Linked DNA regions of Homo sapiens: regions 1, 2, 3 and 4 are each linked to region 5. Evidence: promoter capture Hi-C in 16 types of primary human blood cells and fetal thymus (Javierre and others, 2016). All regions are on one chromosome and are shown on one strand. The core of a region is centred on a gene start or on the middle of the fragment in contact, and the rest is flanking DNA. Distances in the headings are between cores, read along the strand shown. Region 1 overlaps LOC101927045 (a long non-coding RNA gene). Region 2 overlaps NYNRIN (NYN domain and retroviral integrase containing). Region 3 overlaps CARMIL3 (capping protein regulator and myosin 1 linker 3). Region 4 overlaps CPNE6 (copine 6). Region 5 holds the start of RABGGTA (Rab geranylgeranyltransferase subunit alpha).

Region 1 (2,700 bases), core at 16-2,515, 180 kb after region 5:
TGATATCTGATCACTCTCAATCTCTGATCAGGCCCCTCATCCTTCATCCCCTAGGTGATGTCTGATCACCTTGGCCTATCTTCACATGAATCCCGTTAGTTTGGGTTAGCCAGAATCCCTCTTACCCTTGATATTTTTCTCTTACTAATTTTTCATCCACTGACCCCCACCGTATTCGTTGGCTATAAATTCCCACTTGCCCATGTTGTTTCATACTTGACCCCAATCTCTCCCACTGCAAGACCACATTGTAGTGGTACCTGTACCTATTGTGATGGAAAGTCTTCCTTACCTTACTCTATCAAGTGTCACTGAATAATTTTCTTTAACAGGTATTTTGTGACTTTTAGTTTCAGTAACCCAGAGGCTTGGGTGACAGGAGACCATGCCTGAGATCGAAGCAAATTTGGGACTGAGACCCCTGGATAAAGCCCTTGGGCTGTGTTCTCAGATAAAAAGTAAACTTTAAAAGTCCACCTGGTATCAAAGAACATGGCCTGGAAACTTGTTTCTCTAGGCTTTGCTCTTGTCTAGGATTGGTTGTCAAAAAAATTACCGTTCTTTGAGAAGTTGTATCTATTGTCCTGTCCGCCTGCATATTTGTGGTTTGAATTAATTGTTACCTACTTGGCCTAGAAAGCTCTAACCCAAGAATTTAAATTAAGTGTTCCAGATAGAAGACATAAATCTTCCCTTGGTTTGGTTTCACAGGATTTCAATAGATAAAATCCTGCCAAGCATAAACATACAATACAAAATTACAAAACACACAAGGAAACAAAGCACTCTGAGGGTGTCAAATAAAATCAAACCAAACCGAAACAGAAAACAGCAGATTTAGACAAAGATTTAAAGTGTTAGAATTTAGAGGTATAGAATATAAAATTACCAAAGTTTAAAACGTTTAAGAAAGAGAAGAAATTAAAAACATGAGAAAGAGACAAGATGCTATCAAAAAATACCAGCAGAATTGATAAAAGAACCAACCTGAACTTTGAAAAATTAAAATTTTTTTAATTCAAAAAATTTTTTATTGTACTTTAAGTTCTAGGGTACATGTGCACAATGTGCAGGTTTGTTACATATGTATACATGTGCCATGTTGGTGTGCTGCATCCATTAACTCATCATTTACATTAGGTATTCCTCCTAATGCTATCCCTCCCCCCACACCCACCCCACAATAGGCCCCGGTGTGTGATGTTCCCCACCCTGTGTCCAAGCATTCTTATTGTTCAGTTCCCACCTATGAGTGAGAACATGCAGTGTTTGGTTTTTTGTCCTTGCGAGAATTTGCTCAGAATGATGGTTTCCAGCTTCATCCATGTCCCTACAATGGATCATCCTTTTTAATGGATGCATAGTATTCCATGGTGTATATGTGCCACATTTTCTTAATCCAGTCTATCATTGATTGACATTTGGGTTGGTTCCAAGTTTCTGCTATTGTGAATAGTGCCACAGTAAACATACATGTGCACGTGTCTTTATAGTAGCATGATTTATAATCCTTTGGGTATATACCCAGTAATGGGATTGCTGGGTCAAATGGTATTTCTAGTTCTAGATCCTTGAGGAATCACCACACTCCCTTCCACACTAGTTTCCACTCCCACCAACAGTGTAAAAGTGTTCCTATTTCTCCACATCCTCTCCAGCACCTGTTGTTTCCTGACTTTTTAATGATTGCCATTCTAACCGGTGTGAGATGGTATCTCATTGTGGTTTTGATTTGCATTTCTCTGATGGCCAGTGATAATGAGCATTTTTTCATGTGTCTGTTGGCTGCATAAATGTCTTCTTTTGAGAAGTGTCTGTTCATATCCTTCACCCACTTTTTGATGGGGTTGTTTGATTTTTTCTTGTGAATTTGTTTGAGTTCATTGTAGATTCTGGATATCAGCCCTTTGTCAGATGGGTGGATTGCAAAAAATTTTCTCCCATTCTGTAGGTTGCCTGTTCCCTCTCATAGTAGTTTCTTTTGCTGTGCAGAAGCTGTTTAGTTTAATTAGATCCCATTTGTCTATTTTGGCTTTTTTTGCCATTGCTTTTGGTGTTTTAGACATGAAGTCCTTGCCCATGCCTATGTCCTGAATGGTATTGCCTAGGTTTTCTTCTAGGGTTTTTATGGTTTTAGGTCTAACATTTAAGTCTTTAATCCATCTTGAATTAATTTTTATATAAGGTGTAAGGAAGGGATCCAGTTTCAGCTTTCTACATATGGCTAGCCAGTTTTCCCAGCACCATTTATTAAATAGGGAATCCTTTCCCTGTTTCTTGTTTTTGTGAGGTTTGTCAAAGATCAGATGGTGGTAGATGTGTGGTATTATTTCTGAGGGCTCTGTTCTGTTCCATTGGTCTATCTCTCTGTTTTGGTACCAGTACGCTGCTGTTTTGGTTACTGTAGCCTTGTAGTATAGTTTGAAGTCAGGTAGCATGATGCCTCCAGCTTTGTTCTTTTGGCTTAGGATTGTCTTGGCAATGCGGCCTCTTTTTTGGTTCCATATGAGCCTTAAAGTAGTTTTTTCCAATTCTGTGAAGAAAGTCATTGGCAGCTCGATGGGGATGGCATTAAATCTGTAAATTACCTTGGGCAGTATGGCCATTTCGATGATATTCATTCTTCCTATCCATGAGCATGGAATGTTCTTCCATTTGTTTGTGTCCCCTTTTATGTCATTGAGCAGTGGTTTGTAGTTC
Region 2 (2,700 bases), core at 31-2,530, 130 kb after region 5:
CACACTTTCGGAGGTACCCCCGCCACCCCCTCCTTGCTCAAATCCTGGATTGGCTTCTCCAGGCCTACCTGCTCCGTCTCCCTCTGCTGCTTCAGGGTTCTTCGGACCGCAGATCTCACACCTCAGGCTCCCACTGTAGGCCCAGCTAATGGAATCAGTGGCTCCCTTGATTCCTAGCCCTGTTCCTCCACTCCCCCTTTGTCTTCCCTTTGGGAAAGGCATTGTTGAAAAGTGGGAACCCAGCGTGAGGGGATTCTGGGTAGCTCCCTGCCTTATTTTACACAATGACCATAAAGGAGACTTTGTTGGCAATTTGGAGAAGGAGGACAGGGAAGGTGAGGGGCGGGGGGGGTTAAAGTTTTGTCTCAGGGGTTAGGGGATCTGGGTTTGATATGCTGTCACCAAGTTACAACCAAGATAGGAGGGGTATGGTGAGGAGAGTTTGAGACTGGGGTTTGCTACCTGTTAACTATCTGAACTGGGTGATCAGATCAAATAATTTATCCTCTCTTGAGCCATTTCCCTCATCTATGGAACAGACTATAATAATACCTGGTTCATGAAGAGTTTGTGAGAGTCTGCTGAAATCATGCATGTTACAATACTGTTATAAAATGTGGAGAGCTATAGAGTATAGATGTTAGCTACTATTGTTTTTGACTAGCTGCGTAACTTTGAGCAAGTCCTTTTCCCTCTCTGAGTCTCGATCTCCCTGTTTGTAAAGTGGAAGTCTTGGATTAAATGCTGTCTGAGGTCCAGCGATCTGACACATGAACATTTCCCAAGTGTAAGGATGTCTTGTGGTTCTCATAGGGAGGCAGCGTGGCTGGCCCCAATCTCAGCTGTAGGGACACAGAATCATGCACTTTGTTAGTGGCATACTGAACATAGGCCAACAGGCAGAGAGGACTCTGGGAGACTACAGGTTGCAGGACTGGGGGAGGGCTGATGGTGAGGGTGGCTTGTTGGGGTCTGAGGGGAGGAGGGGTCGAGAAGGATACAGGCTCATCTAGAGAAGGGCCTGAGTGTGTTTCTATGTGGTTGGTTTCTCAGGAAAATCTCTGTAAATCTTGAGTGCTTTAAAATTGTTTTGTTGTGGTGGGATTAAAGAACACTGAAGACATTACTGTGAAACACATACCCAGGCAGCAAAACAAACACTGGGGAGGCCTCTCTGAGGTGAAATCAGTGAGTGGAGAGGCGGGTTTTAGTAATGATCAGAAGAGGCCCGGGACAAGCCCTGCTCCACCCTTCTCCCCTTTGGCAGTGAGGTGAGGATGGGGTGGGCGGCAGAGAAGAGAGGTGACCACTGCGGGAGGTGATGGGGAGCCTAAAGGCAGTGGTGGTGGGCAAGAGTACCTTCTGGAGACTGGGTTCTGGAGCTCTGGGACAGGGTGTGGCCTGCTGACATCTGGCTTGGCTGTCAGATGGAAGTTGAACTATCTTTGCTGCACACTAACTGTGAGCAGTACCCTGAGAGTTGGTTGCGGTCAGTGCCTGGAGTTGGCTCCTATGGACCCACTGTTAAAATTTCGGGAATTGTGCAAGTGAGTGGAGGAGTATTTACAGCCATGGTGGGAGTATTTATGCCACAGAAATTGGCAAATGCGACAAATCAAGGTTACCCCCCACCCCCAGCTGATTGTTAAACATTTACCAGGACACCTGCTTGTGTTGTGGGCACTGAATACTTCTTTTTCTTTAAACTTAAATTTTCTTTTATCAAAGTAATACACATTTGAAAAGTCCAATTTTACCAAAAGGCTTAGAAGAGCACACAGAGGTTCCCTGCCCCGGCCCTCCCAATTCCTCCTTCAGTAACCATCCCCACTGACAGTATTTGCTCTGGCATTTACGCATCTCCACATTTCTAAAAGAATATGTAGACACTATTGTCTTTTAATTAATTGACGTTTGCTGCTATCTTTTTTTGGTCCCATTATCGTATGTGAGGATTGAGCTCCCTTTCACGGCCAGCCCCTCTTCTCAAGATAGTTCTGTTTCAATTACCTGCTAAATCTACGTTTAGCATTGCCTCATTATGCCTTGCACATAGCGTTCACATCGAAGCACTGAAGTGTACTATGATTTTGTTTTCTTTCTTACTTTTTGGGTTTTACTGAGGTCATTGAGGTTAAGCACTCCTTGTTTTTCAATTTGCCTTTCTTTGTACCTATTGTTAATTCTTACCACTTCCAGTAGCCTCTCAGTACAGTTTTCTACAAGGTCAGTCTATCAGTTCAAGGTGTTCTTTTGGTTCTAAATTTTTTCTTGGCGCCGTCTCTCCTGTCTGGTCAGTTGCTTTCCAGGCTGACACAGCTGTCGTTCTTGGCATCCTTTGCCTTTTTTCTTTGCTAGATACTCATGTCCTGGACCTTGAAACTTTTTCTTTCTTGGGTTGATGGAACACATCCCTCTGTAGCCTCAAGTTAAAAAGATGGTGCAGCAGCAAAGTGTATGCAGATGCCTGCTTTCAACATGCCTGTCTCTTGAGTCATACCCTCCAATCTGAACTAGCTGTCCTGTGTAATGACCATTGTCACCCTAAAACAGTGCCTGGCATGTAGTCAAGAATTATTTGTCGAATGGATGAATAAATTCTGAGATTTCTCTTCACCGTCATCCTGGAGATGGTCTTTGCTTCTTTCTTACTTGGTTTGCTGGAAAACTGCTCTCCAGTGGCTTCCCGGGAAAAGTTTT
Region 3 (2,700 bases), core at 128-2,627, 210 kb before region 5:
TGAGGAACAACCACTCCCAGACGTGCCCCCAGGAGCAGGCCTTCAGGTTGCAGCAGGGCCTGGTGACCAGCAGCGCCGAGCAAGTAAACGTTTCCCTCTGGGACACGGGGCATACCCGGGGCATGCAGGGCACAGTGTGATGTGATGGAAAATTGAGTGGGGGAGCATGAAGAGGCACTGCATGGTGCCTATCACTGGACTGAGCATGTGGGGAAGCAAAAAGAGAGGACATGCAGGATATGGGCTTCAAACATATGTGGGCGAACAGCAGGAGTGCACAGGACTCTGGGAGCTCAGCTGGGCATTCAAGAAGGCTGTAGCAATGGGGACCAGGCCAGCCAGAGACATCACCTCCACCACTGTCGGTGCCAGCACCAGTAGCACTGTCTAAGGGGTCCTACCTGCGAAGATGTGGAAGCAGGGGTCCCCTTGACACCCCTGCCACTGTGCTCCAGATGCTGCAGCGGCTGTGTGGACGAGTGCAGGAGGAGGTGCGGGCCCTGAGACTATGCCCCCTGGAGCCTGTGCAGGATGAGCTACTCTACGCTCGGGACCTCATCAAAGATGCCAAGAACTCCCGGGCGGTGAGCCCTCCACAGGCTACCCTTCCCCTGAAGTCTGGAGAACCCAAGAAGGCCGACCATGCTAAGCCATGACAGCCCTGCCCTGTGCATCTGCCTTCCTAGCCCAGGGACCCCAGAGACCTAGCAAGTCCTGGTTCTGGCCTGCTAATCATAACCCCTTCCTTCTCCAGCTGTTTCCCAGCCTCTATGAGCTGGGCCACGTGCTGGCCAATGATGGGCCTGTGCGGCAGAGGCTGGAATCAGTAGCAAGTGAGGTGTCCAAAGCTGTGGACAAGGAGCTGCAGGCAAGTCCTGGAGGAGGGAGGAATCCATGGTGGGAACCTAGTGTTGACTGAGGCCCTAAGCCCAGAGCTAAAGTCAGAGCTGGGAGACTTCTGGAGGGCCAGGAGGACATGCAGAGTTGAGACCACCCACGCTCCCACTGTACCAAGGCATTGCTGCAATATCAGGCTTGGATTTTTTTCTGCTAGCTTTGATGTTGGTCCCTGAACTCTGACCTCCCTGCTCTGGATTTGGATCCTTGGACTGACTGCCCCTGTCTGTATGGTAGGGTGGAAGGAGCACTGACCAGAAAGTGGGGAAGCCTTAGTGTCCAAGGCTCTGCCACTAACAGTTTTGTGACTTAGGCAGGTCCCTCAGTCTCAGCAGGAGGGGCTGGAATAGATAAAGTCTCTTCTGCTGTGGTGCCAGCCCTGATCCTGTCCCCCTTGGGCCTCTGGCCTCCCTTTCCCCCATACTAGGTGATCCTGGAGTCCATGGTCAGCCTGACACAGGAGTTATGCCCTGTGGCCATGCGGGTGGCCGAGGGACACAACAAGATGCTGAGCAATGTGGCGGAGCGTGTCACTGTGCCCCGGAACTTCATCCGAGGGGCACTGCTGGAGCAAGCAGGACAGGACATTCAGAACAAGCTGGAGTGAGAGGCAAAGGGCAGGGCTGGGGCTGAGCTGGATTTGGCCCAGATCACTTAGGGACTTAGGACTGGAGAGCTATCAGCAATGAATAATGAATGGCACAATCTCCATTACAAGGATCAATCTTTAACCAAGTGCAACCTTGCTATTTAGGGTCTGGCTGGTCTTTGCCCTAGAAATCTAAGTGCTGAGCTGGGGTTTAGGAGCCAAGTTTGTGCCCACACAGGTGTACACACACATACCCACACAAATACACCAGGAATGGGATAGCAGGGCCTCCTCGGAGGCATGGACAAAGAAAAGTACCTGAGTTGGGTGCATGGAAGCACTGTCTTCCTCCCAGTTTTCATTGCCCCTAGAGTTCTTTCATTCTGGGTCTGGGTGCCACCACTCACCAAACCAAAGGAAAACTAGTACACATACCTATGAAACAGCTAGGCCCAAGGAAGGGTCTTTCCTACCCTCACAGTAGCAACTAGCAGGGTTTAGTTACTCAGCACCCCAATTACCTAGCTCTGTTCCACTGGGGCTCCAGGGGCCTGACCTAGGGCCCCCTTGCTCCTTCTCCTCGAATTCCTCTTTCCCCACACATAGTTGGGCTGGGGGCTCTGGGGTGGGACTAGACGTGTATTTGTGGAGAAATGAGTGTCAAGGGCTAGGCTGCCTCCTTCAGCAGCCACATGCGCTCCATGGGCAGACAGACCAGGCCAGCTGGCCGTTCTCTCAGGCTTCTGGGAGAGGGAGTGCCTCAGGGGCCATGCGGGGGACTGAGGTGCTAATGTTCTGAGTAGCCCCACCTGTGCCCACAGTGAAGTGAAGCTCTCAGTCGTCACCTACCTAACCAGCTCCATAGTGGATGAGATCCTGCAAGAGCTCTACCATTCCCACAAGAGCCTGGTAAGGCTTCTTCTGCAGCCTGGCCTGGCTCGGGCACGCCCTCCACCCCACATTATCCTGTCTCCCTAATCACCCTCCCCTTCAAGGCCCTGGGAGGTGGGCAGCTTCCATGGAATTCTGTTCACACCTGCCCTTCCCCAGGCCCGGCACCTGACCCAGCTAAGGACGCTGTCAGATCCACCAGGGTGCCCAGGCCAAGGGCAGGATCTGTCCTCCCGGGGCCGAGGCCGGAACCATGACCATGAGGAGACCACAGATGATGAACTTGGGACCAACATTGTGAGCCCCCCGCTCCCTGCTCCTCC
Region 4 (2,700 bases), core at 15-2,514, 190 kb before region 5:
GTGAGTCCTGGGGCTTCCAAAGGAGTGGACACAGGGGGTGCAAAGTGGGGCTTGGTAGAGCCCAACTAGGCTGGGTGTAGTGTAGAAGAGAGTGCTTATGACTCTCCCACCCCCTCCCAGGTGCCTGTCCTGACCCTCGTGACTCCAGTGACCAATGCCTCCACCTCTTGGACCAGGTGTGCCCCCTGGGTTCTGGACGTGAGTGGTGGGTCCTGCTCCTATCTCTCCAAACCCCATACCCTTCAATGCTGTGGCCCCTCAGTGACTTCCTTGGGTGATCCTGACTTTCTAGCCATTAATAAAGAGAACTGCTCCTAGCACCTCAGCCTCTAACCATCATGCCTCAGATGCCCACTGGGCAGCCTGCAGCACCCCCACACACACCATAAGAAATGAGGACCAGCACCTTTCAAAATCTGAGACAGAGCTCCCCAGGCAGGCTGCTGTCTCTGCAGTCTTACCCCAGCTATGTGCCAGTGGGATCTGAGGAGCCCCCTCCCTCACCTCCCAACCCCAGGGGGTCTAGGCACCATGGAGAATAATTACAGGAGATAGGAGGATAATTACGGGCTGTCAGGAGGGCAGGCTGAAGCTTTCTTATAGCTGTCTCCAGAGAGGCCCTGCTGAGTCCCCCAGGAGCTGAACCCCAGCCCCCACACAGCTGTGGGGCGGGCCAAGAGCAGGTGCTGGGGGATACTGAAGGAGGGCAGCAGGTCTGCTAGTGAATTGGGAACATAGTGGAGCATCTAAGGCCTATACAGTCTGGTTTCCCGGGTGTGTCAATGTGTGTGTCTGTTCATGGCCTTAATGGGTCACACTCATGGACTCAGGGATGTGCAGTGCATGAACACACAGATTCACACACTTAACAATCACATCAGCAACAACAGCAAATATCATTACGTAGCATGTGTCAACTTTATGCTAAGTGCTTATTTAAATGCATTTATTCTCAGTAGGTGGTTACCATTATTTTCACCATTTTTCTGACAATCAAGTGAGGCTTGATTTTAACCCACCCATGGTCAAAAAACTGGTAGAACTGCAACTTGAAACAGGGTCTCACTCTGCCACCCAGGCTGGAATGCAGTGGCACGATTATGGCTCACTGCATCCCCGAACTCCTGGGCTCAAGTTATCCTTCCACCTTAGCCTCCTGGGTAGGTGGGACTCCAGGTGCATGCCATTACATCTGAATTTATTTTATTTTATTTTTTTGTAGTGACAGGGTTCTCGCTATGTTGCCCAGGCTGGTCTCAAACTTCCTCCTTGGCCTCCCAAAGTGTTGGGATTACAGGCAGGAACCACTGCGCCCCACCTAAAGCACTACTCTTAATCACCACAGTGTGCAACTTTGTTTTTTTAAGTATACTCAGGTAACCCAGGAGTATCATTTTGAGACCCAGGTATGGTACTGTATATGTGGCCTAGTTGTGTGCTCAGGTGTCTATGGATGGTTCTGTCTGTCTTTGTGTGCCATGCAGGTGAGAAAAGTGAACAAGAAAAGTAGTGGGTCTGAATTACAGCTCCAGGGCAGGCAAGGATAGACACAGGTGAAATTTAGAGTGAGAGAAAAAGAGCTGGGCTCCCGGAAGGACCCTCCCTGCCCCATCCTCTCCCTTCAACAATGAGTGTGGAAGGGGATGAAGAAAGAGAAGCTAAAGGTTCTGTGAGCCCCTCAGAGAGAGAATCCAGAGCCAGAGAGGATGGCCAGTGGCCAATGGTGGGGAAGGGAGAGGAGACGAGAGAAATTCTGAGAGCGATGGAGGAGAGGACTCCCATTGCAGGCTCCTAAGCGGAGGAGGGATGAGCTGGGATAGAGGAGGGGAAAGAGGGAGCAAGAACTGTGATGGGAAGAGAAGAGACAGCTGGGGAGGGGGTGGAGAGAGGGGGTAGAAAGGAAGAGGGACATATGGGAGCCTCTTCCCCCATGCCCGAAAGCTTCTCCCATTTATTATGTCCGGTAGAGGACAGATGACAGTAACTCGTGAGGCGGCTGCTCCCAGCACAACGCCTGTGCTCTGCCCAGAGGCCCCATCTGCCCTCCCCTTAGCCTGCTGAACTGGAGGACTGGGTTACCATGGAAACTGTGAGACCTGGATAGCCACTGACAGGCCGAGCTGGGCCACTGAGGCTTCTGAGTTTGGTGGTGGTGGTGGTGAGAGGGGGAGGATCCATCTGTTCCAATGCCTGCCCCTCCACCCCATTTCCATTGGCTCTCCATAACAGATGTGCCACCCAGCTCCAGGTGGGGACTTCCCTTTTTCTTGCTCTCTCTCTCTCTCCCTCTCTCTCCCTCTCCCACACACAGACACACAAACAGTAGCCTGAAGCAGGGATAAAGAATGAACACTTCTTAAATTGCAAGAACATTTAGCTTATTGCATTAGAATTCTGCCTGGACTTCAAGTTTAATTCACAAAAGCTGCACTCTCTCAGCAAATTGTCATCCCAGGAGAAGTCTCACCTCAGCCCTCAGAGAGGTGGGAGGTGGCAGGAGCACCCTGTGCAGGTCTGGAGGCCCAGACAGCCTGGAGGGAGCTGCCGAGGACCCACGTATGTGCTCACAGAGAAGCCAGGCTTCCTCGCCTGGGCTGTGCATCCCCTGCCTAGGCTGCAGCTGGGAAACTGCAGCAGGATAGGAGGTGCCTTTGGCGAGATTGTCTTGGGGACTTCTTGGGGAGACCACCGGGACTTCCA
Region 5 (2,759 bases), core at 1-2,500:
GCTGCTGGAGCACCTCTCGTCGGCAGTTCCAGAGGGTGGCAAAATCAGGGTTGGCTCCCAGAATCTGGCTTGTCAGTTCCAGCACGGACTCATCCAGCTCACCAGCCTGGCGCTAAGAAGATAGGTGGCAGGGTTAGAGATCATATAATTTTCCCACTACAGGACTAAATAACGTAAACTTAAAACCATCCAATATTCTGTGAATCCCACATTATACAACAGGTACTATGAACCATGCTTTATGGCCTTACAGGTATTCTCTCATTTAATCTTCACAACAGCCTTATGCAGTAGGTGCAATTATTAGCCCCATTTTACAGATGAGCAAACTGAGGCCCAAAGAGATTCAGCAACTTGCCCAAAGTCATACAGTTATAAGTGAGATAACCCAGAATTGGATCTAGGCAGTCTGACTCTAGGGACCAGCTCTTGGCCTCTGCACTATACTAAGGGAGCTACTTGGGGTCGGGGCTACCTCTGAGGGCCCCACCTTCTGGAATACGGCCTGGGTGGCTGACTGGTATAGCTTCAGCTTCTGCTCTCGCTCTAGCCTTTTGGCCTCCGCCTGCTCTTCTGACGTCTTCACCTTCAGGCGTCCGTGCTACAAGGATGAACGGGTTGGAAGAGTGCAGGTTGCCTTGCAGAAGCTGACCTGCAAAAACCCCACACTGTGGAGCCCTAGGTTCATACGGGGCAACCATGGCACTGCCACTGGGGGTGAGGGCGCGGGCCTGCGGAGGTGAAGGGCTGGGCTCAGGGTTCTCACCATGGTGCCGGCTCAGGGTTCAAGACAGGGGAAGGGTCCAGTGGTAGCCCTTGAAGTCTGAGGAGAGAAGTGTCAATCACGTAGCCCCGCCCCTACTAGCTCCGCCCACAGCTGTGTCCGGAAGCAGCAAGCGTGCCTGGGCAGAGACCCCCAGAGTGTAAAGAGGTCCTGGGACAGGCTTTGCACGTTCCACAAGAGGTGAGCACCCGGACTAGGACTTCCATCCGTGTGGCCCTTCCTATAGCCCGATTCGCCCGGGCCAGAGCGCGAGCCGGGGCACCTGGGCGTTGGGGACCACTCTGCTCCCCAAAGGTTGCCGCTACCCGCCCGTCCCACGGCTCCCGGGCACCCCCGCCCCCCGCGGGCGGACCCACCTGCGCTGGGAGGAGGCGCGGGGGACGCGGAGCTGCGGCGCCCGCCACAGAGCCCAGGCGCTGGCTAGAGCGGCGCCACGTCCCGGCTCATCGAAACGCAGCGCACTCTGCAGGCTTGGGGAGGGACTTGCGGCGGAAGAGGCCGGCTCGGAGGCGCGTGCGCGGGGGCTCTGCGCTCGCTGTCCGGAAACGCCTCGTACCTGTTAGCCACCTGGTGTGTACGAGTGCGCACGGGCGACTGTAGCGTGCGTGTGAAATGGGGGGAGGACCATGCCAGTTGGTAACTCAGAGTGCAATGTAGTTAGTGGAAGAGGTTTCTCCAACAGCCGGAAACCCGCACCTTCACTACTCCACTGACCTCACCCTGGCCACACCGACAGCCTTCTAGATGTCAAATCTAACAGGGGGAGTTTCCTGTCATTTTCTCTAACCTCTGAAGCATTTGACGCTACCCATTTCTTTATACTTGACACCCCCATTCTGGCTTCTCCTCCTGCACCTCTGCCTCTCTCTTCTCATCTGTTCACCTCCACCCCTAAATGTTGGTGATCTCCAGGGCCCTTTCCTCACCCCTTTTTCACTTCACCCACTGTTCCTGGGAGAATGTTTAAATGTAAGCCTTCAACTGCTTCGAGTTGGAGCTCCTCAGAGCTGTTTTGGCCCACAAATCTGGCATTACACTTTCTCTGGGTGAGTTCATCCACACTCATTGTTTTAATTACTACCTGTAAATTGATGACACCCAAATTTATATCTCCAGCCCAGATGTCTTGCAAGCTTAAATAACAATAAATAATATACATGCACATACATATTCAAACACCTGTTGGATATCACCTGGTGTCCCAGAGACACCTCAAACTCCAAAAGCCAAAAGGTATAAATTATCTTTCATCCATCCTGTCTAAACATTGGCCTTTATGTTTTCTATTGTAGTGAATGGCACTATTTCCTCCTCACTTCTTAAACTCGCTTAAATACTCTTTCTCTTCCCACTGCCACTAGGAGTTCAAACTCCGAATTTCTTCTCCAGATTGTTGAAAGTCTTTTCAGTGTTCTCCACCTCATCCCTTGTTATCAGTCCATCCTCTGTGCTACTGAATCCATTTTTCTAAAATGCAGATTTGACGTCATATCTGTGCCTAAAAGTGCTGAGTGGCTCCTTTTCAGGATAGAATTGTAATCTCTCAGCTCAGCACATCAGACCTATTGGCATTTGGGCTCTGCCTACTCTCTGGCTGTATATCCTGCCTGACCCTGCCAAAAACTCTTCATGACAGCCTACAGAAATACTTGCAGTTTCCTAAATATGTTAGCCTGTTCCCTCTTGACTCTCCTTTCTCCACACTCCTCCTTTGCCACAGTAATTCCTGTTTATCTTTAAGATTTAACTTTTTGAACTCCACAGTACAAAGAAAAAAAAATGTAACTCAAGTGGCACCTCGAGGAAGTTCTCTAAAATGCCCCAGTCTGATTTGATAGACCTTCATATGTACTTTTAAAGACTGTGATTTTTTTCCCTGTGCCTACTGCAAAGAAGGTTTTCTGGTGGAGCCTTTATGAGGTTCAGGGTGGCTAGTGAGTGTGTGTGTACCACACGTACACGTGTGTGATGTCTT

The links. Contacts are between HindIII fragments. The CHiCAGO score rates a contact against its expected background, and 5 or more counts as called.
Region 1: a fragment that was not itself captured here is called in contact with the fragment with the promoter of RABGGTA in region 5 in 2 of 17 cell types (neutrophils and naive CD8 T cells); the score reaches 5.6 in neutrophils.
Region 2: a fragment that was not itself captured here is called in contact with the fragment with the promoter of RABGGTA in region 5 in 5 of 17 cell types (total CD8 T cells, total CD4 T cells, naive CD8 T cells and 2 more); the score reaches 7.9 in total CD8 T cells.
Region 3: a contact is called between a fragment that was not itself captured here and the fragment with the promoter of RABGGTA in region 5, in 1 of 17 cell types (activated CD4 T cells). The highest score is 5.3, in activated CD4 T cells.
Region 4: a contact is called between a fragment that was not itself captured here and the fragment with the promoter of RABGGTA in region 5, in 2 of 17 cell types (activated CD4 T cells and total B cells). The highest score is 5.9, in activated CD4 T cells.

What each region holds. Positions count from the first base shown.
Region 1 is chr14:24,446,559-24,449,258 of GRCh38, forward strand. The region is part of intron 2 of LOC101927045 (a long non-coding RNA gene); the gene reads left to right. Among named protein-coding and RNA genes, the nearest start is that of SDR39U1, 5.1 kb to the left of the region's middle. The HindIII fragment of the contact is 4,219 bases long and covers 1-2,700 here.
Region 2 is chr14:24,401,095-24,403,794 of GRCh38, forward strand. The region is part of intron 2 of NYNRIN (NYN domain and retroviral integrase containing); the gene reads left to right. Among named protein-coding and RNA genes, the nearest start is that of NYNRIN, 3.4 kb to the left of the region's middle. The HindIII fragment of the contact is 4,166 bases long and covers 1-2,700 here.
Region 3 is chr14:24,060,173-24,062,872 of GRCh38, forward strand. It overlaps CARMIL3 (capping protein regulator and myosin 1 linker 3), which reads left to right. Exons shown (of 40, transcript NM_138360.4): 24 at 1-83; 25 at 456-584; 26 at 755-868; 27 at 1,325-1,500; 28 at 2,308-2,395; 29 at 2,537-2,674. Among named protein-coding and RNA genes, the nearest start is that of CARMIL3, 9.5 kb to the left of the region's middle. The HindIII fragment of the contact is 4,487 bases long and covers 1-2,700 here.
Region 4 is chr14:24,077,768-24,080,467 of GRCh38, forward strand. It overlaps CPNE6 (copine 6), which reads left to right. Exons shown (of 17, transcript NM_006032.4): 17 at 121-320. NRL (neural retina leucine zipper) reads right to left here. Exons shown (of 3, transcript NM_001354768.3): 3 at 895-2,700. Among named protein-coding and RNA genes, the nearest start is that of CPNE6, 7.6 kb to the left of the region's middle. The HindIII fragment of the contact is 1,349 bases long and covers 591-1,939 here.
Region 5 is chr14:24,270,347-24,273,105 of GRCh38, forward strand. It overlaps RABGGTA (Rab geranylgeranyltransferase subunit alpha), which reads right to left and starts at 1,251. Exons shown (of 17, transcript NM_182836.3): 1 at 1,141-1,251; 2 at 767-823; 3 at 491-601; 4 at 1-112. The coding sequence starts at 769. It also overlaps a transcript of NOP9 not described here. RefSeq lists enhancers at 569-778, 1,519-1,598 and silencers at 969-1,258, 1,329-1,428. The HindIII fragment of the contact is 2,930 bases long and covers 1-1,915 here.